Regions from separate parts of the Homo sapiens genome. Here all the other regions are linked to region 4. The links are contacts of gene promoters, found by promoter capture Hi-C in blood cells and fetal thymus (Javierre and others, 2016). All regions are on one chromosome and are shown on one strand. The core of a region is centred on a gene start or on the middle of the fragment in contact, and the rest is flanking DNA. Distances in the headings are between cores, read along the strand shown.

The links. Contacts are between HindIII fragments. The CHiCAGO score rates a contact against its expected background, and 5 or more counts as called.
Region 1: a fragment that was not itself captured here is called in contact with the fragment with the promoter of DUSP10 in region 4 in 1 of 17 cell types (naive CD4 T cells); the score reaches 5.5 in naive CD4 T cells.
Region 2: a contact is called between a fragment that was not itself captured here and the fragment with the promoter of DUSP10 in region 4, in 1 of 17 cell types (total CD8 T cells). The highest score is 6.9, in total CD8 T cells.
Region 3: a fragment that was not itself captured here is called in contact with the fragment with the promoter of DUSP10 in region 4 in 3 of 17 cell types (M0 macrophages, M1 macrophages and M2 macrophages); the score reaches 6.7 in M0 macrophages.
Region 5: a contact is called between a fragment that was not itself captured here and the fragment with the promoter of DUSP10 in region 4, in 2 of 17 cell types (M0 macrophages and M2 macrophages). The highest score is 5.9, in M0 macrophages.
Region 6: a fragment that was not itself captured here is called in contact with the fragment with the promoter of DUSP10 in region 4 in 1 of 17 cell types (M0 macrophages); the score reaches 6.5 in M0 macrophages.
Region 7: a contact is called between a fragment that was not itself captured here and the fragment with the promoter of DUSP10 in region 4, in 1 of 17 cell types (total B cells). The highest score is 6.3, in total B cells.

What each region holds. Positions count from the first base shown.
Region 1 is chr1:221,490,937-221,493,636 of GRCh38, forward strand. LOC105372934 (a long non-coding RNA gene) reads right to left here. Exons shown (of 3, transcript XR_922622.2): 3 at 1,352-1,390. Among named protein-coding and RNA genes, the nearest start is that of LINC02817, 160 kb to the left of the region's middle. The HindIII fragment of the contact is 3,246 bases long and covers 1-2,700 here.
Region 2 is chr1:221,518,892-221,521,591 of GRCh38, forward strand. No RefSeq gene overlaps it. Among named protein-coding and RNA genes, the nearest start is that of LINC02817, 180 kb to the left of the region's middle. The HindIII fragment of the contact is 1,138 bases long and covers 702-1,839 here.
Region 3 is chr1:221,992,033-221,994,732 of GRCh38, forward strand. No RefSeq gene overlaps it. Among named protein-coding and RNA genes, the nearest start is that of LINC02257, 15 kb to the left of the region's middle. RefSeq lists an enhancer at 407-456. The HindIII fragment of the contact is 1,605 bases long and covers 483-2,087 here.
Region 4 is chr1:221,740,796-221,743,495 of GRCh38, forward strand. DUSP10 (dual specificity phosphatase 10) reads right to left here and starts at 1,294. Exons shown (of 4, transcript NM_007207.6): 1 at 1,186-1,294. RefSeq lists silencers at 281-330, 2,051-2,530 and enhancers at 364-1,001, 1,002-1,639, 1,111-1,300, 1,631-1,830, 1,640-2,277. The HindIII fragment of the contact is 7,400 bases long and covers 1-2,700 here.
Region 5 is chr1:221,549,420-221,552,119 of GRCh38, forward strand. It overlaps LOC107985462 (a long non-coding RNA gene), which reads left to right. Exons shown (of 2, transcript XR_001737823.1): 1 at 1-56. It also overlaps the pseudogene LOC100132179. Among named protein-coding and RNA genes, the nearest start is that of DUSP10, 190 kb to the right of the region's middle. The HindIII fragment of the contact is 5,088 bases long and covers 1-2,700 here.
Region 6 is chr1:221,962,054-221,964,753 of GRCh38, forward strand. The region is part of intron 1 of LINC02257 (long intergenic non-protein coding RNA 2257); the gene reads right to left. Among named protein-coding and RNA genes, the nearest start is that of LINC02474, 3.0 kb to the right of the region's middle. The HindIII fragment of the contact is 866 bases long and covers 908-1,773 here.
Region 7 is chr1:221,937,325-221,940,024 of GRCh38, forward strand. The region is part of intron 1 of LINC02257 (long intergenic non-protein coding RNA 2257); the gene reads right to left. Among named protein-coding and RNA genes, the nearest start is that of LINC02474, 28 kb to the right of the region's middle. RefSeq lists an enhancer at 2,166-2,345. The HindIII fragment of the contact is 3,460 bases long and covers 1-2,700 here.

The DNA.
Region 1 (2,700 bases), core at 182-2,681, 250 kb before region 4:
AATATCCATCCAGTAGAAGGAGAAAGAGGAAGAAGATTGTGTGGTAGAAGACTGAATGAGCCAGTCCTGGAGTCCCTACTACTCATACTCCATTGGCCGGAACTCAGTCACATGGCCACATCTGACCATGAGGCAGTCTGGGAAATGGATTCCAGCTGTGTTCCAATGAGGAAGCAGGTTCGATGAAGATCTAACCAATCTCTCTCTCACAGAGGTATCAAAAAGCATTAAAGAAAGGCAGTGCTATTTTCCTTTCAAATTCTACTCCAACTCATTCTCTTACTCTGTAAATAGCTTCAGCATCTGCTCAACTTTCCACATTATTTCAGTCACTAAGTCTGTACTAGTCCATTTTCATACTGCTATAAAGAACTGCCTGAGACTGGGTAATTTATAAAAGAAAAAGGTTTATTGACTCACAGTTCAGCATGGCTTGGGAGGCCTCAGGAAACTTACAATCATGACAAAAGGTGAAGAGGAAGTAAGGCACCTCCTTCACTAGGTGAAAGGAAGGAGAAGTGTTGAGCGAAGGGGGAAGATCCCATTATAAAACCATCAGATCTCGTGAGAACTCTCACCATCACAAGAACAGCAGGGGGGAACAGCCCCCATGATTCAATTACCTCCACCTGGTCCCACCCTCCACACATGGAGATTATGGGAATTAAAATTTGAGATGAGATTTATGTGGGGAAAAGAGCCAAACCATATCAAAGTCCGTTTGTTTTCTCATTCATTTAACAAACATTTTCTGGCTATTAATCATTTTGCCAGGAACTGTGCTAGACACTGGGAACATAATAGTGAAAAAGACACAATATTTTATTATTAGTCAATGATAATGGACTGAAAGAAGAATATAGTTGACCCTTGAACAACGAGGGGATTAGGGACACTGACACCCTGTGCAGCTGAAAATCCATGTATAACTTTTGAATCTTCCAAAACAACTCATGCCTGTAATCCCATTACTTTGGGGAGGCCAAGGCAGGCAGGTCACTTGAGCCCAGGAATTTGAGACCAGTCTGGGAAAAATGGCAAATCCCTATCTCTACAAAAAAAATTCAAAATTATCCAGGCATGGTACTGCATGCCTGTAGTCCCAGCTACTTAGGAGGCTGAGGTGGGAGGATCGCTTGAGTCCAGACCCGAAAACTTAACTACTTATAGCCTACTATTGACCAGAAGCCTTACTGAGGACATTAACAGTCAATTAACACATATTTGTATGATATGTGTATTGTATACTGTATTCTTGTAATAAAGAAAGCTAGAGAAAAGAAAATGTTATTCAGAGAATCATGAAGAAGAGAAAACATACTTACTATTCATTAAGTGGAAGTGGATCATTATAAAGGTCTTCATCCTCATCATCTTCACATTGAGTAGTCTGAGGAACAGGAGAAAGGAGAGGGTTGGTCTTGCTGTCTCAGGGGTGATAAAGGTGGAAGAGGTAGAGGAGGTGGGAGAGGAAGCATATATTATATTATAAAAGTAGTATAGTATGTGCTACAGTTATTTTATGCAGTTATGATTTAATATGTGTTTACTTTTTTAACATTTCTCCGTACTGTAAATGGCACCATCTGTGATCTGTGTTTGTGTGTGCAAGTTTTGATTTTTTAACTTTTTATAATAGATTTGCATATATTTTGATATGATAAATGATAACAGACTAGTATCTGCATATATTTCATGCATTTCTAACATACCTTTTTCTTATTTTTTTGATATTTATAGGCCATGCAGTTCATCTGCAAGTTTTCTCTAATTGTCAAAAATCTCCAAAAATTTTTCCAATAGGTTTATTGAAAAAAATCCACATATAAGTGAACCTGCACAGTTCAAACCTATGCTATACAAAGATCAACTGTACAGTAAAGGTGATGTTTTCAAAATGTAAATCAGGTCATATTACTCTCCTGATTAAAAGTCTCCAAAAGTTTTTCCATTGCTCTGTAGGAAAAAAAATGTAAATGATTTGAAATGGCAAAAGAGATTACTGGGTGTTGTATTAGTCAGTTCTCACACTGCTAGTAAAGACAGACTTGAGACTGGGTAATTTATAAAGAAAAAGAGATTTAATGGACTGCCAGTTCCACGTGGCCAGGGAGACCTCACAATCATGGCAGAAGGCAAAAGAGGAGAAAGTCACATCTTACATGGCAGCAGGCAAGAGAGCTTGTGCAGGGTAACTCTCATTTATAAAACCATCAGATCTCCTGAAACTTATTCACTACGACAAGAACCACATGGGGGAAACTGCCTCCATTATTCAATTATCTCCACCTGGCCCCACCCTTGACACATGGGGATTATTACAATTCAAAGTGAGATTTGGGTGGAGACACAGGCAAACCATATTAGTGTGTTTTTAATGAGAATATTAGATGTTCTCTGGATGACCCTCTAGGATTATCTCATTCTATAGGATTTAGGCTTATTTTACAAGTCATAAATTGTAAAAAAAAATGTAATAATATAAATGATTCTTGCTTATAGAAATGCAAATGATTTTTCCTGGCAGAATACAATTGATTTCTACCCTGTGGAAAAGGTTATTCTAAGTCTTGAGTTGTATTGTCTTATAGCTATTAAGAGTTTTGCTTCTATTGGCAAATTTATTTCACAATTCCTGATTGTGTGTGTGTGTGTTTGTGTATTCTTCAGATATATTGATGTATATATATATATATCATA
Region 2 (2,700 bases), core at 21-2,520, 220 kb before region 4:
CCCTTATCCCAGAGTGTTTGGGAGAATGGCATGTAAAAAAACCATTCAGAAAGACTTAAGTGCCATATATACACATGTAGTTATTATTATTAATCATTATCATTTGATCATTATGATATTATTGTATATATTATTTATATATTATTTATTACAATTGATATTTGAGGGGGAAGTTCAGGATGGTGATAATCAATTTTAAGGTAGGACATTAGGTTTAGGTAACATTCACTTGTGGTACAAAAAATTAATGGCAATATCTGGGTTTATATTTGTCCCTAAATTTCTTATTTATTGTCCTGACATCTTGGTTTAATATTTTTCTTTCAAGTTCAGCTAATGCTGCATGTGGAGAGATGTAGATAACTTGGTAAAAGGATGAGTTCCCAAGAAGAGATGAGCATAGTTCAGTCTTTATCAAGAAAGCACCATCACTTTTCCTATACACAGCAATGTGATTATATTTCAAGGACCCAAGTTTATTTTTGAAACAGATATTTATATTTCAGGCAGCCTGCTTAAAACACGTATTAGATTTGAAGTGAGAATTTATTGCCTTTGTGGCTTTGAAGTCTATATTTTTTATATGATCTTCCAGAAGGAGCTCAGATTCTGTCTTCAATGGAGACCTGGCAGAGCTACTGTTGAGGCAACTGGCTGGAGGAGAGGGGTTTTAGTGCTTGGTCGTGGGGAAGAATTTTCTAAGCTTATCTTATGGTGCCACAGATGCAGTTTATTCATTTATTTGCCCAACAAAATCTTATTAAGTCTCTGCTTTGTGGAAGTTTCTGTACTAGGCTCTGAGATAACTGTTGCTCCAAATCACTTGTGATAGCTCTGTGTCTCACCCATGTGAAATTTAAAGTCGTCTCTCTGTCCAAAGAGCACTCTAGTGAGAAGATTCTAGTTTACATTTTACTCCTTGAAAACTCTGATCCTGGCACTCTCGTGTCTTCCAGTGACATGAAAGGGTTAATGTATGTTTTTCAGCACCTGTCACAATTCTGGAGCAACTCAGGCAGTCAAAAGAAGAGGGCTCAATTGATGTAGGCACAAGTGTGTGGGCATTTGGAACACTATACATAGGTTGCTCTTTTATTCTCTCTTCCCTCCTCCCAGCTTTGGCCTGGGGACATGAGTGGTGACTTAAATGAACCACAAAACATTGCTGGGAAAATCTACAGTGTGCTGAAGGAGGCAGCAAAGCATTGAGATGAACAGATTTGGGAGCTTTCTGAGCAGGGGAGAGATAGCACCTAGTATTTATGGGACAGTTAAACTCCCATGTGCTCTGGTACTATGAATCTGGAAAAGTGTCATCCAGTCATCAACCCAGGACTTCTCACTGGCATTTATCAAAGTCATGATACCTTCCAAATGCGAATGATGGGACACAGCCAGACAGTTCATCCAGAACTACATTGTTATAACTCTTGTTGCTTCCTAAATGAAAGGATATATTTCATCTGCATGGATGGACAGTTGCTTTTCTTTTCTTCTCTTTTTTCTTTTCTTTTCTCCCTTCCTTCCTTCTTTCTTTTCTTCCTTCCTTCCTTCCCTCCTTTCTTCTTTCCTCCTTCCTTCCTTTCTTCTTCCTTCTTTCCTTCCTTCCTTCATCCCTTCCTTCCTTCTTTCTTCCCTAAAGCTCCTGCATTTACTTATTACCTGAGCAACTCCTGTAGGTCTTAAGATCCCAGAGGCAAAAGTATCCTAACATAGACTTACAGAGAAACAGCCACAGAAGTAGGTTTTTATCACCAGAGTGCTGCCGAATTCAACAGGAGCATCTGTGGAAAAGTAGAACAAGGTTTATTATTTTCAGAAGACTGGAGTTTGAACCCAAGCTTGCCACTTAGCAACATTTTGGCCTTGGGCTAGTTATAATCTTTCTGAACCATGCTGTTCATACCGTACACTCACTCCCTGACCGTGATCAATCTAATCATTAATAGATACTGCTGTAATGAATTTTTATACTTTCTACAAAATATCTCACTTGTCAGAACCCACCCATATCAGTCAGTTATTGTCACAGTAATGCTGTATAAGAAATATCTCAAAAGTCAATGGCTTAAAATAAACCATCTTTTATACTAACTCATGTAATTTTGGGTCAGCTCCAGGTTGAGTAATCCAGCCTAGTCTCTGTTGAGCTTGACTCCAATTTTCAGTTTGAGTTCAGGCCTTCTCCATGTGTGTCTCATTCTCTTTGGACCATAACTAGCTATGGCATGCTGTTCTCATTGTCTTCATCTGTAACTTGGGTGCATAAATGCCTGCTCTGGTTGTTCATTCCACAAAGTCTGGGTTCTTTCTATGTGCCCAGTACTGTGCTACACACTAGAGACACAACTCTGTTCCTGGTCCCAGGGAGTGGAAAGAGAAACACTGAACATATAAGCATGGTTAGGGTCATGAAGAAAAAGTGTAGCACATGGCAGAATCAGGAAATAGGAAGTCCTTACTTATTCTGGAGAGTCTCCTCAAGGAAATACTGTTTATACTGTTTGAGCTGAGATAGGAAAAACAAGCGTTCAATTATTAGATATTGGGATATCAGGAAGATTCCAGGCCTAGGGAAGAGGGTGTGTGAAAGGCATGGCGGGGAAGACAACAGTGCATGTTATTTACAATATAGTATTGTGAGACAATTTTTAAAAACTGCATTTGGCAGAGCTGTATCAACTGCTATGGACATTTGCC
Region 3 (2,700 bases), core at 35-2,534, 250 kb after region 4:
AGATCACAATTCCACCTGCACTGTCTTTTCCACCTTCCCATGGAGAGGCTCCCATGCATCAGCTATTTACTATTTCAGTTTTTTAATGGAGTTCTTACTTGCCTTGGGCTAGAGACTGAGCTAGAACTGGGAATACAAAAGATAAGACAAGGTACCGGCCTGTGAAGCATACCATCTAGCAAGAGAAATGGCTCCTTGGAGAATGGCAGCACAGAGGAGAGTTAACCCCCACTGAGAGTTTGAAAAGGGCTTCAAAGAATAAAAAGGAAGAAAAAGGAAACTATGGCTTATTGGGATAAAAAATTAAATGGCTTATTCACCTATTTTGCCAAGTACAAAGCTAGTTGCTTTATGTACATAAATGTATTTATCCTATGAAAATGCTTAATAGGAGGCCAGTAGGCTGCAGAAACTCCAGCACCCTGGGTCTCTTCCTAAGCAAACCAAAACCCAACTCAATGTAAACAGTGAAACAAAGCTTAAGCTTATCCTATCAGAAATCACCAAGTAGCTTCTAACTAGGGACTTTACCAATCAGAAACCACCAACTAATCTCTAACTAGGGACTTTCCATTTTAACCAATCAAATGCTTCCTCTGTCTTTCTTTCACAAACACCGTATAAAAGTATCCCCTTCGCACCCCTTCAGTGGAGTGCCAAACCACTTGTGGTCTAATGCTGCCCAGGTCATGAAATGCTGAATGCTCAAACTCATTAGAATGTTAATATGCCTAAGTTCATTTTTTAACAATCCTTACATTAATCTTAAGAGGTAGATATTGTTTTCCACAATATAAAGCTAAGCAAAGTTGGGCATGAAGAGAGTAATACATTCCCTTGTGTCCACAGAGTTAGCACATGATGGGGCAGTGATCAGGCCAAGGTGTATTGGATTCTATAGCATTCCCTCTTCGAGATGTGAAATTTTACCTGGACCCTAAACAATCACAAAGATGTCTCCCATTAGTGAAGGGGAAGTTTCTCCGAGTAGAAGGAGCTAAAAGAACAAAATCAGAGAGTTTGGATTACACTAGTGGTCACAACGTAAAGGCAGACACAGGCAGTCTCAGGACATAAGGTTGGAAGACAGGTAACTCCAAATGTTCTAGATGCTCTTCTGGGCTGCTGTGCTCTAGGGACTGAGGAGCTATGGAAATGGGAGCAACTTGACTTGATTTTTGCCCTTTAAAGCTGCTTCTTTAACAACAGTGTAAAGCAGTGGTCCCCAACATTTTCGACATCAGGGACAGGTTTGTGGAAGACAATTTTTCCACAGACCGGATTGGAGGGATGAATGAAGTGTATTACATTTATTGTCCACTTTATTTCTATTATTATTACCTTGTAATATATAATGAAATAATTTTACAACTCATCATAATGTATAATCAGTGGGAGCCCTGAGCCTGTTTTTCTGCACTACAAGGTCCCATCTAGGGGTGATGGGAGACAGTGACAGATCCTCAGTCATTACAGTCTCATAAGGAGCACACAACCTAGATCCCTTGCATGCACAGTTCACAATAGGGTTCATGCTTCTATTAGAATCCAATGCCAACACTGATCTCACAGGAGGTGGAGCTCAGGTGGTAATGCCAGTGATGAGGAGCAGCTGTAAATACAGATGAAATTTTGCTTGATTGCCTGTCTCTCACCTGCTACTGTGAGGCCTGGTTCCTAACAGGCCATAGACTGATACTGGTCCATGGCCCAGGGATTGGAGACCCCTGGTGGAAAGGATGAATTAGAAAAGAGTGAGATTGTGTTCATTCATTTACTCATTTGCAGGCACTCATGAAATGATACTGGGGAAAGGAGACCAGTGAAAAAATGACAGCAGTAGCCCAGAAGAGAGATGATGAGGACATGAGCCAAGCTCTTGCTTCCCTGTCTTTGACATTTCAGTACATGGAGAAGACCTAGGAAAGCCCATAGGGCATATGCTTGGAATTCTGAGAGCTATCGGGAGGTCTAAAGTAACCCCTGAGCCAAGATCTTTGGGGCTACATAATAGAAATGAATTTAAACTAGACCTGAAGGTTTGTACCTTTTTACAAGAATGCTTCAGAAACAGACCTGGTCCTCAAAGCTTCAAGGCCCAATGGGGATTCTTATCTCCTTTGGGAAGGAACTAGGGAGTCTTGATTCAAATGTCTCCGGACCCTCCCGAATATATATCCTCTTAACAGAAGAAAGAGCTGTTCTCGCTTAACCAGGCCTCTAATGCTAGTTAGAAAAAGAACAGGGTTCTAAGACATCAACTGCTTGCCTGAAAGGGGAAGAGAATCAGCTGACTCATATACTGGTCCTTTTAGGCTGCATGGTTTGAGTCATGATGCTCAGGAGAGTTTCCAGCACAGCAGACCTCAGGGAAGGCAGGGCTTAAATCCAGGTAGCCCACTGTGGAGTCAGGAAAGCTGTAGGGACAAACTGGAAGTTGATGGCAGAGAGGTGTTTTCACTGAGGTGCAGATCAACACAGCACCATCCTACAGCCCCATGGAGTCCAAAGGGAGGCCAAGAGGATGTGGAAAGAGTGAGATGGTACACCCACTTCCTAGAGTTGCACTGACTTTTAGAGTTGCACTGACTCTAAAAGTGATCAGAAAATGGAAATGATGGTGTTTCCTGTTCAGTTTGAGACCCAAGTAACTGGCCTCATCTTCACCTCTATCAAAGAACTCACTTCTCAACTTGACTC
Region 4 (2,700 bases), core at 44-2,543:
GAATTGTTGCCCACCGGATCTATCTCTGATTTCAGAGTGTCTGCAAAAAGACAGCTCCTTCCTCCTGTAGGCACAGGGGCACTCTACAACTCAGGCTTGCTAACTCTTCTTCTTCTATTAGACATGCACATAGCAAAGACGCCAAACCCCACGCCAAGAGACGCTCACCTAAACGAACTTTAAGAGCTATCAGGAAAAATGCCATCTATCATCCGTCTACACACGACCGTCACCATTCTCATCCGTCTACACACGACCGTCACCATTCTCTGACACAGAACCAAAGTGTCACAGGCGGAATCCACACTCACGCGCGCACACGGGGCACGCACCCATCACGTCGGCAGATCTCCAACGACTCGGGTTTCTCTCACCCACCTTTGGATGGGAGCGAAGGAGTCAACCCCCCTTCCCTTGCGTAGTATTTTTTCTGAAGAGCGAGTTCTATTCCAGAAGCTATAACTGTTTCCCGGTTGGACCAAGCGGTGAAAGTCTTTGCTATTGTGTTACCTGGTAGGACACGTCCAGGATCAACATACCATTTCTTCTGAGAGGGACGCATAAGCGTGTTCACAGAGACACGCGCTGGGACCCCCACCTCCACACAGAGTTCAAGGCTCACACACACACACACGGAGTGTATAGAGAGACCTGCATCCCTGCAGCAGAGGGTCGGGCGTACATACTGCCCGTGAAACCATCCAGTCTGGCCCAGAAAATCTCCCAGAGAAATACTGAGCTATCCCCTCTCCCTTCCACCACTAGGCAAGAGCTGGAGAGAAAATTAAGTGGTTAGAGAATGCTTCTTCCCCATTCCTGGAGCACTTAACATCCCCCCGCCCCCCGCTTCACTCCTCGGCACACAGCGCACTAATGAGCCCCGAGCATTTAAAACTGCCGCAAAGCATCCCAACAAACCTCATTTTTTCTTCGCCCCAAATCCAAGTAGACTGCAGGGAGTAAACGCACAGGGTAGCAGGAGCCAACGGCCGGAACCTTATAACCCTACCTGCTGTAGCTCCTCCGTCAGCATCGCATCTCTATCTTTCTGTCTCTGTCTCTCTCTCACACACACACAGATACACACACACAAACACACACACTCACACTCACACAAGCACCGCCTTACAATCCTCCACCTCCAGTCCCGGGCTCTCAGGAGTAGTCGCGGTGACTTCCACTTACTTCATAAATAAGTGTATTCCTCCACCATCTGGCGCTCCTCTTCAGCTATGGACTCGCACATTCAGCCCCCATTCACTCGGCTTCATTGATCTCCAGCAGCAACATAGTTACTTTCTCTTTTGCTACACTGTAAATGTAAGGTTCTGAGGGGGCGGACTCGCCGCCGACCGACGGCGGGTTGGGCCAATAAGAATCCGGAGAAAGCCGACCGCTACCTCACAGAGCCCCGCGACCAATGGGCAGCCTAGGGGGCGGGTAAGAAGGCGTGGCCTCATCTCTTTAAGGAGGGTTTATCCGAAGCTGCTCTGGGTCCTCGGTGTTAAAACACGGGCGGTGATGTCATTGGCAACCAATCAAAAACTTAAAAGAGCCAGCCGGGGCCGCGCGGAGCAGCTGCTCTCTATTTACATGTAAACCGAACCGGCAGGATGCAGTTAACCCTTTACCAGGCTGAAGTGTCAGCGGGCTGGACGCGCTGCTCCGCTAAAACTGGCTCTTCCCACTGGACGGGATCCTCCAACACTCCCTCACCCGGGGACAAACCACGCTATTTTTCCTCCTTACTATGGACAGATGATCAAAAGTATCGGAGTAACTTTCTAAAGGAAAGAGACTGCGATCACCGTCCCTAGTGGGAAAGCCGGGTTCTCTCCGAGTCGCTCGAGGTGACTTGACAAACGCTAAGCCAAAATTCGCGGACCTCGCCGGGTCTTCTGCGCTAGGACCAGCATGAGCGCGCAGCCAGGGGCGACGCTTCCGCTCCGAGCCGCGGCCCGGGGCCACGCGCTAAGGGCCCGAACTTGGCAGCTGACCGTCCCGGACAGGGAGGCCCTTCAGCCTCGACGCGGCCTGCGTCCTCCGGAGGGCCCTGCTCCGCCCGGGAAGCGTCCGCCTCCCGCCCGCCCGCCCGCAGATGTCGCTGCCCCTCTGGCTGTCCCGGCCTGACCGCCGCGCGCCGCCCTGCTGCTCACCTACTTCCGCGCCACGGTCACGCCCCTGCCGTCCCCAGGCTAACCCTCCCGGGGCTCGACCCAGAGCACTAAGGCGGCGCCACTGAGGGCTGCTCGGAGGAGGAGGCTTGAGTCGACGCCAGAGGCGGCAAGGGACGCGCCCTGAGCAGCGGTGCAGAGGCCAATCCCCTGGCCGGGCGTCCTGGGGCCCGCTACGCGCCCGCTGCCCCTCCGGGTCTGGGTCCCCGCCCGCCGCCGCCCCCCTTTCCCGCCTGGCGCGCTGGGTCCCCGCGCCGTGCCAGCAGCGCGCAACCCACCCGCCCCACATGCCTCGGCCGCCACCCCTCGGTCCCGCACGGCCCCTGCCGAGGCCAGGACCGGCAGCCCGGCGCTTCTGGAACAGCCGCAGCTGGCGGAAAAGAGCCAGAGCCGAGTGCAAATAGCTAGATTGAATGGGGCCGGAGGAGCGTGGAGGAGGTGACGCCGCCTCTCCCCGCTCCCCTGACTTTGGCCGGCGCCAGGTAGCTGGCCGCAGCTCCTGATCAGGGAGAAGAGTAGGGGGCGG
Region 5 (2,700 bases), core at 191-2,690, 190 kb before region 4:
CCAGCCAAGGATGGGTTCTAACTGATTTCTGTGTCCCGAATAGAGCCTGACACCAGGTAAGAATAAGACTGTGTGTTAGTAAGTAAATATATGAATGTAATGTAGTACAGGGGTGGCTATAATTTATACAATCATATTTGAAAAGAAGCATGAACAATTTTAGTTTTAAAGGATTAAGTTACAAAAAGTATGCTAAAAATGAAGATTTCATTTTAGAATAAAATATCTTTTCTATTACATCTTGCAAACTACCATTCAATAAATTGTACATGCAATTTTTTTACTTCTTTGAAAGTAATTGGCTTATTTAACGATTTGTATCTTCTTGAGGTGACTTTCTTTTCATCATAAAAACCCAGTTGAGTACTTTGTAGCAATTTACATTTTCTTCCTTCCTGTTTATAGAGTACAGAATGAATATAAGCTCTTATTCTTACACCAAATAACTACATAAAATGCCAAGACTCTGGTTAATTAACAGTGGATCTTTAAATAACACATGTCCTCCAAATAAAGCAAGTCAGAACTTGAAGTGCCCAAACATGTCATAGGTGACTGATGAAGTGTACCTAGTGACCCAGTGAATTGATAAGTTCACCATGACAACCATTATTTCAGATAGCTGCACCATAGGCAAAGCAGAAGCTGACCAGAGACTAGATATTTCTTGCTCTCCATGCACTGACTCAGAGAAGCAACCAATAACAGCAGAAGGTATTGGTGCTTGATAGTGCTGCAGCAGCATTGAGTTTACTTGAAACTCATTCTGCTTGGTTTCTGCCCACACTGGATAAGGGGGTATAACTAAAACACTGAGAGCAGAAAACATCCTTCCAAGGACATTACATTTCACATTGTAATAAGAATTTAGGATTACACCTAAAGTTACAGGAATCAGTGTTGTGTTATATTCTGGTGAAGAAGGCCTTCTGGTAGCAGAGGGTCTGCATGGCCATAATCACCAGTGTAATGATGACCTTGATCAGCTGATGGACGCCTGTGGAGTTGCCCTGCAGAGAGAAGTTGGTGAAGACCTTGTAATCACAGAAGCTAAAGGCCAGAAGGAGGATCTTGGGGTGGCAGACATGTTGAGGCAAATATAACCAATTTCTGACAGATGTGCAAGCGCAGCCAGGTGACCACAAGATGCCCCAGGGTCAGGTTCATGTTAGGGATCCTTTTGTTGATGAACATGATGCAGATGGACACCACCAGGTTGCGGAGGGGCCTAGTGATGATGCTTGCTTTGTGCCACTGTTACCGGGGGTCCTTGCTCCCAGAGCTCCCAAGATGGTGGCGGGCCGCTTCCAAAATGGTGGAGGGCCACTTCCAAGATGGTGGCAAGCCTCGTGTTCTCTGACCTGGGGTTCTTGGCCTGACAGATTCCAAAGAATGGAATCTTGGGCCATGCGGTGAGTGTTATAGCTCTATTAGAAGCTGCGGGTCACGGAAGAGAACGGTGGAACCCAGTGACTAGTGTTCAGTTTGATTAGGATGAACCTGGGCACTTAGCCGTGCAGGAAGGGCAAGCCTTTAGCTGAATAGGGAGTGGCATAGGCGACTCACTGGATCAGGAGCGCAGCAGACACCCTGCCTGATCTGGAGGGATGGAAGTCAGTGGCGGGTCTGTGACAGCGGCAAACAGCAGTGGTGGACAGCGAGCGAAAGCTCAGCTTGAGCAGTAACAAGCACAGACCAAAAGAGAGTGCAGTTGCAAGATTTAATAGAGTGAAAACGGAGCTCCGATACAAAGGGAGGGGACCCAAAAGGGGTAGCCTTTGCTGGCTCGAATGCCTGGGTTTATATCCCGATCATTTTCCCTCCTGCTGTGCTCTCAGGCAATAGATGATCGGCTATTTCTTTACCTCCTGTTTTTGCCTAATTAGCATTTTAGTGAGCTCTCTTTACTATCTGACTGGTCGGATGTGAGCTAAGTTGCAAGCCCCGTGTTTAAAGGTGGAAGTGGTCACCTTCCCAGTTAGGCTTAGGGATTCTTAGTCGGCCTAGGAAATCCAGCTAGTTCTGTCTCTCACCACCATAAAGAGCAGCACACTCATCATCTTCCAGGCAAGCAGCCATCCCTCAGCACACACCACTACCCCAGTCCAATCATGGGTACTCTTGAAGACACATAGTTGTAATGGGTAAGAGGTTCGGTCCTTATGGTAGGACAGGAGTAGATATTTTAGTTCACAAAGGATTTGGAATTCCTCAAATCACTTTCTTGGGGCATCTCTTTACTTTGCCTACACAGTGACCCTTTGGGAAATGGCACCAGGTGTCCCAGGCTGGTGCTTAAAGTGGGAATATTAAGGTAAGATGTGGCAGATTCTACCAGATAGAATATCACTATGCTTCCTTCCAAAGGGAGCCTTATTCAACTCCTCTCTGCAATTGTTTGTATACAGAATGTGCCAAAGGTTCCAAGGAGAATCTTAAACTCTCACACCACATGTGACCCAGTGGAATGCAGAGGGCAGGGCCTCCTTCCGGAAACACATCAGCCCTAGTCCTAGCTCCAATCCTTCTTGCTGAGGGGCCTCAGCTCTGTTACCTACCCCCTCTATGTCTCAGTTTTCTTACAAGTAAAATGATAATATTAATAGTAGCTAGCTCATATGATTAGAAGGATTAACTGAGTACATAAAGCACACAGAACATGCCTGGCACAGAGTGGGTGTAACTGTCTCATGAGCGACC
Region 6 (2,700 bases), core at 91-2,590, 220 kb after region 4:
TTCACCCCCGCCCCTCCAAAAGGGACTACAGCATTTTTCCTATGTTTCTCAGAAGGTCTCAGGGTTTTCAGCAGTCTCCTTCAGTTTCCTTTGTGGTCACCAGATTTGCCAAAGGACAAAATTACACGTTTAGTTTGAAGATCTCGACTAGCTTTATTGCAATTCTAGGATTGGGCAATGTCTCATTCCATAAAATAGAATAAGTGTCCCAAAGAGTTGAGCAGAGGGGATTCATTTTATAGACAGAGGGGGTTGAAGAAACCAGAAGCAAAGAACAAAATGTGGACTCGTCCTTTGAAAGTTACCTCCCTTACAAGGTGAGAACAAGGAAACAGAACAATAGAGAAATAACAGATTTGTTAGCATCAGGTTACGTCGGGTTACTTTTGTTGTAAGGATTAAAACAGAGGGAACTTCGTTATCCTGCTCATTAAAGACGGAAACTGGTCTGCTTGGAACATTGGCTGTTACTGCTCTGTCCTGATTTTGGGGAAGATGAAATAACAACTTATTTTCAGTTTGGTGATATGGAACTTTGGCATGGGTGACTCCATTTTGATTTTTAGTCTGGTCTGTTGGGGCCTAATACAAAACAATAGCCTTTCATAATTTTTACTTAACATTAGGAAATAAGACACAAAGCTCATATCTTTATCAAATCTAAGGGTCTTTGGTCCATTGACCATTCATGTGCACTCCTTTTGACATTTTTCCCAGGCTGACTGTGAATTTAGCATAGTTCTGATTCTTTACTTGCAATAACAGCAGTTACTCTGTGACAGGCACTCTTCTCAGCGCTTTTCACCCAGTAACTCATTTAATCCATACAAGGTCCTGTAATAAAGGGACTATGGTCTACATCTTAAACGGGCAGTACCTGTGCAAGGTTGGTGAGATCGTTCTCCCAAGCTTGCACAGCAAGAAGGATCAGGATTTGAACTCAGACCCAGGACCCAGATGCTTGACCGATTAAGCCAGAGCAGCCTCAGAGCCCAAGTTCCAGAAAGTGTAGGGGAGAAAACAATAAATTTTCTCTTTCACCTTGATGAGTTTTTTCTGAGCTTCTCTGTAAAAAAGACAAATTAACAAGAGAAAAACAAACAGAATTCTGATAAAATGTGTACCTATGGGAGACAACCCAGAGAAATGAGTAAATCTCTGCAGCAGATCTCAAAGAATTATCCTAGACCTCACCCTTAAGTACTATCCTTCTCTGAAACAAAGAGAGAAGGCTGAGGGGAATGATGCAATTAAGAAATGTTGGCCATGGCTGGGCATGGTGGCTCACACCTGTAATCTCGGCACTTTGAGAGGCTGAGGCAGGCAGATCACAAGGTCAGGAGTTCGAGACCAGTCTGGCCAACATGTTGAAACTCCATCTCTACTAAAAATACAAAAATTAGCCAGGCGTGGTGGTGGTTGCCGGTAATCCCAGCTATTCAGGAGGCTGAGGCAGGAGAATTGCTTGAACCCAGGAGGCAGAGGTTGCAGTGGGCCAAGATCATGCCACTGCATTCTGGCCTGGGTGACAGAGTAAGACTCTGTCTCAAAAAAAAAAAAAAAAAAAAAGAAAAAGAAAAGTTGGCCAGGAAAAGCACCGTTAAAGAAGCATAATATTTGATAACTAGATTTAAGTTGATGCCTTCTCTAGGGAATTAGTTCTTCTTTTCTTTCTGATGCAGAAAGGAGACACCCTTACAATGGAGGTTTTCTTTACAGATGTAAATTTATCTTATGAAATCATAACTGTTTTCAAAACTAATTTGTTTTCAAAGCTTCTCTGTGTTTGCTATTTCCCAAAATAGCTCAAAATAATCCTTAGGCCAAAAAGGCATATTTGGGGTAGTATGTCCTGAGCCCCATCATTAGTCATCTTTATTACCCTGGCCAAAGGTCTCCTTGCTCATGACAGTCAAAGACTAAAGGACAGAGGGAACTTTTTAATAATGAGAGTTTGCTGACATGCACACACGTGTCATCCACTTTCTGATTAAAAAAAACAGAGAATACATTACTGTGGCCCAAACCTGACATTTTAAGCCATTTGAGATACCCAATAGTCTAGAAAGAATGCTCCTGAGAATTAAAATGAAAGAAATGTCTCCAACCAAATTAGAGACTACTAAATGAATCTTATTAAGAAGCCAAGTGGAAACCCTATCTCAGAGAACAAATTAGGACATAGAAATCAAATTGCCGGCCGGGCGCGGTGGCTCACGCCTGTAATCCCAGCACTTTGGGAGGCCGAGGCGGGCGGATCACGAGGTCAGGAGATCGAGACCATCCTGGCTAACACGGTGAAACCCCATCTCTACTAAAAATACAAAAAAAAAATTAGCCGGGCGTGGTAGCGGGCGCCTGTAGTCCCAGCTACTTGGGAGGCTGAGGCAGGAGAATGGCGTGAACCCGGGAGGCGGAGCTTGCAGTGAGCCGAGATCGCGCCACTGCACTCCAGCCTGGGCGACAGAGCGAGACTCCGTCTCAAAAAAAAAAAAAAAAAAAAAAAATCAAATTGCCATCATTAAACCAAAAACAAAATTCTAAGTCCCTCAACCAACTGAATGGACCCCCTTCTCTCAGCCAAGGGCCTTCTAAAACACTAAACCTGAAACACTAGTTCAGGCCATGATGGGAATAGGTGGTCAGGCATGTCACATTACACTTTCCTCCCTGTGGAATTCAGGCACATCTGACCAGTAT
Region 7 (2,700 bases), core at 53-2,552, 200 kb after region 4:
GAAAAGTCCCCAAATCTGCAGTTAGCAAGCTGGAGAAAAGCCAATGGTATAGTTTCAGTCTGAGTTTGAAGGTCTGAGAATTAGAATGTTCAATGTTGCAGTGCCAGTACGAAGGCTGAAAAAAGAAATAACGTCCCAGCCAGAAGGCAGTCAAGTAGGAGTTCCCTTTTACTCAAAAAGGGGTCAACTTTTATGTTCTCATCAGGACTTAAAGTGATTGGATGTGGCCCACCCACACAGGGAGCCCATCTACTTCACTCAGTCTACTGATTCCAGTGCTAATCTCATCCAGAAACACCCTCACAGACACACTTAGAATAATGTTTGACCAAATATCTGTGCACTTGTTACCCAACCAAATTGGCACATAACATTAACTATCACGTGTATATTGTATCTCAGGCATCCAGCACATTCCTACGCACAAAATTGTGCAAGGGACATTCTATGAGCCAAGGAGGGATAGAGTCAACGATTCTTAGTTGTGATCCCTCAGAGAGAACACACATGCAAACGCAGACACACAAACACACCCCAAAAGTATGCATCTACCAAAACAAGCCATATAAAGAACATTTTTAGCTTATTCCTTTCATTTTAAAGGCAAGGAAACAGGCCCAGAGAGGTAAAGTGACTTTCTCAAAGTTACACGTCAAATTAATGACTTCTCTAGAACTAACACTCAGGACTCTAGAATTTAAGTTCAATGCCAGTACAATGTTGTTTGTCATTTGTATGACCCTGCCTGTGATCCTGTAGGCCTCAGACATTCTAAAACCCCTTCTTCCTTTTGCCAAACCCTGTGTGATGAGGAGCTAACAGCCATGTGGCATGACTCTTCATGTCCTTCCAAATAGCAGAACCAGCCTTCCAGGGGGCAATGGTTCATTGTGGATCTAAAAGTACGTATTTTGAGAAGGAACGCAAAGTAGTTGGGAGGCAGATTCATAAGCTAATTGTTTTGGGCTTATTACAATCAATATCAGTTGCCCCAGGCCAAGGCTGCCTTTGCCTTGTCAGGCTGCTGACATTTTGTGCTTGGTCACCCAGCTCCTTGCTCCAAAGTGATACATTATTGATTTTCCTCCTGTCCCATTAAGGCCACCCTTTCATCTCCCCAGGGATAGATGATGCTTTTGCACACAGCTTGCATGTGCCCAGACTCCTTAGTGGGAAAGGCTATATAGGATGAGAAGGTTACCTTTGCAATTTCACACCCTCAGATTCTGTCTGCAGCTGAAGAAAATCCACTGTCACACAAATCATACTACCTGAATTTCCTAAATGCCCTTTTTCATCTTCCCCCATATGTCAACATTTTTTAAACTCAGAAAAAACATTTCTGCCTCCTCCCTGGGTTCCAATCGATGCTGGCCTTCAAACATATAAGGTGAGTTTTTTACCCATCTCTCTCTCTCCTGAACAGTGGGGGATGTTGGGAAAATCCTGGGATTTAAGGGATGACATACCTGGGCTCAAGACATGGCTTCCCCATTTACCCAAATGATGACCTTGGAATCCTTCTTTGAGCCTTCATCGCTTCATCCTTGAGAGAGGAAATAATAATACCTGCCCGATCACTTTATAAAATATTTAAATGAGATCACATGTGTGAAGCACCGAGTCTGGAACACAGTACGTGTCAATGCCTCATCCTTTTCTATTTCTCCTGCTGTCTCTTGGGAGACTGGAAGACTGTGGCCTCCCCAAGGTAGGGGCCACTCATTCCTCATCTTTGTCCCTAGCATCACATTTGGCACAGATTAATGTTTGGGGAATTGAGGACAACAAGGCAGATACACTTTTATAGATAATGACACTGCCTCTTAGAGAGATTCAGTGCCTTGTCCATGCCAAGACCACTGATAGAAATGAGTCTGTTAAGTTCCAGCATTTTGACTCTTTGTCTCATCTTTCATTCACTAAATCTTGGTGCCTTATGTTCACTCCAAAACAATCTGAACGCAACAACTATGCAGACTAAGTGTGTGGTTACTTCCTGACTTTTCCTCAGAGTTAACTAGTTCCAGCCTCTGTTTAATGGTAAACATAGATTTCCACCATAATCCGTACTGGCCCCACCTCTTGTCACCTGCAGCTGTCCTCTTCAACCTTCCCATAGCACAGCCTTCCTAGTTACCAGCAAATGGGAATTTGAAGCAGAAGGTGTTGAAATCATCTCAGCCCACCTCCACGTTACACAGACTTGAGACCCAGGGCTTTTGGGCTTCCATGCCAAGTTTCCAGCTGCAGTTTAGCCTCTTTTCAAACAGCAATTCTTTCGCCAAATGCTTCCACATGCTTCAGTTTCAGGTGTTAATTCTACCTTCTAAATTCTTGTTCTGAATATCAGCCCAGTGGCCAGGCTTCACTACCCAAGAGCTGCCAGCCTGTGGTCTGAATTTGCAAGTGTCTCCTGCATGCTTTCTCATTATTGGCTTCACCCACCTGCTTGGGTCCCTGGTATTGCACCAGCTGGCAGCCCCTGCTGGTGGTGACTGATGTCATAAACCACTACGAGAGCTAGTTGCTTCCCCCCAGACTCTTCTCTGTTGTCAACCAGATTGCCACTTAGCCTTGGTCCAGTTCCCAGTCCCCTCCCCATCTGTAGAGTCTGCCTGCCAGCACACTGCTATGACTTTCTTTTCATAAAATACTGCTTTTATTTATGAGTAGATCTCCTTTACCACATCACCATCT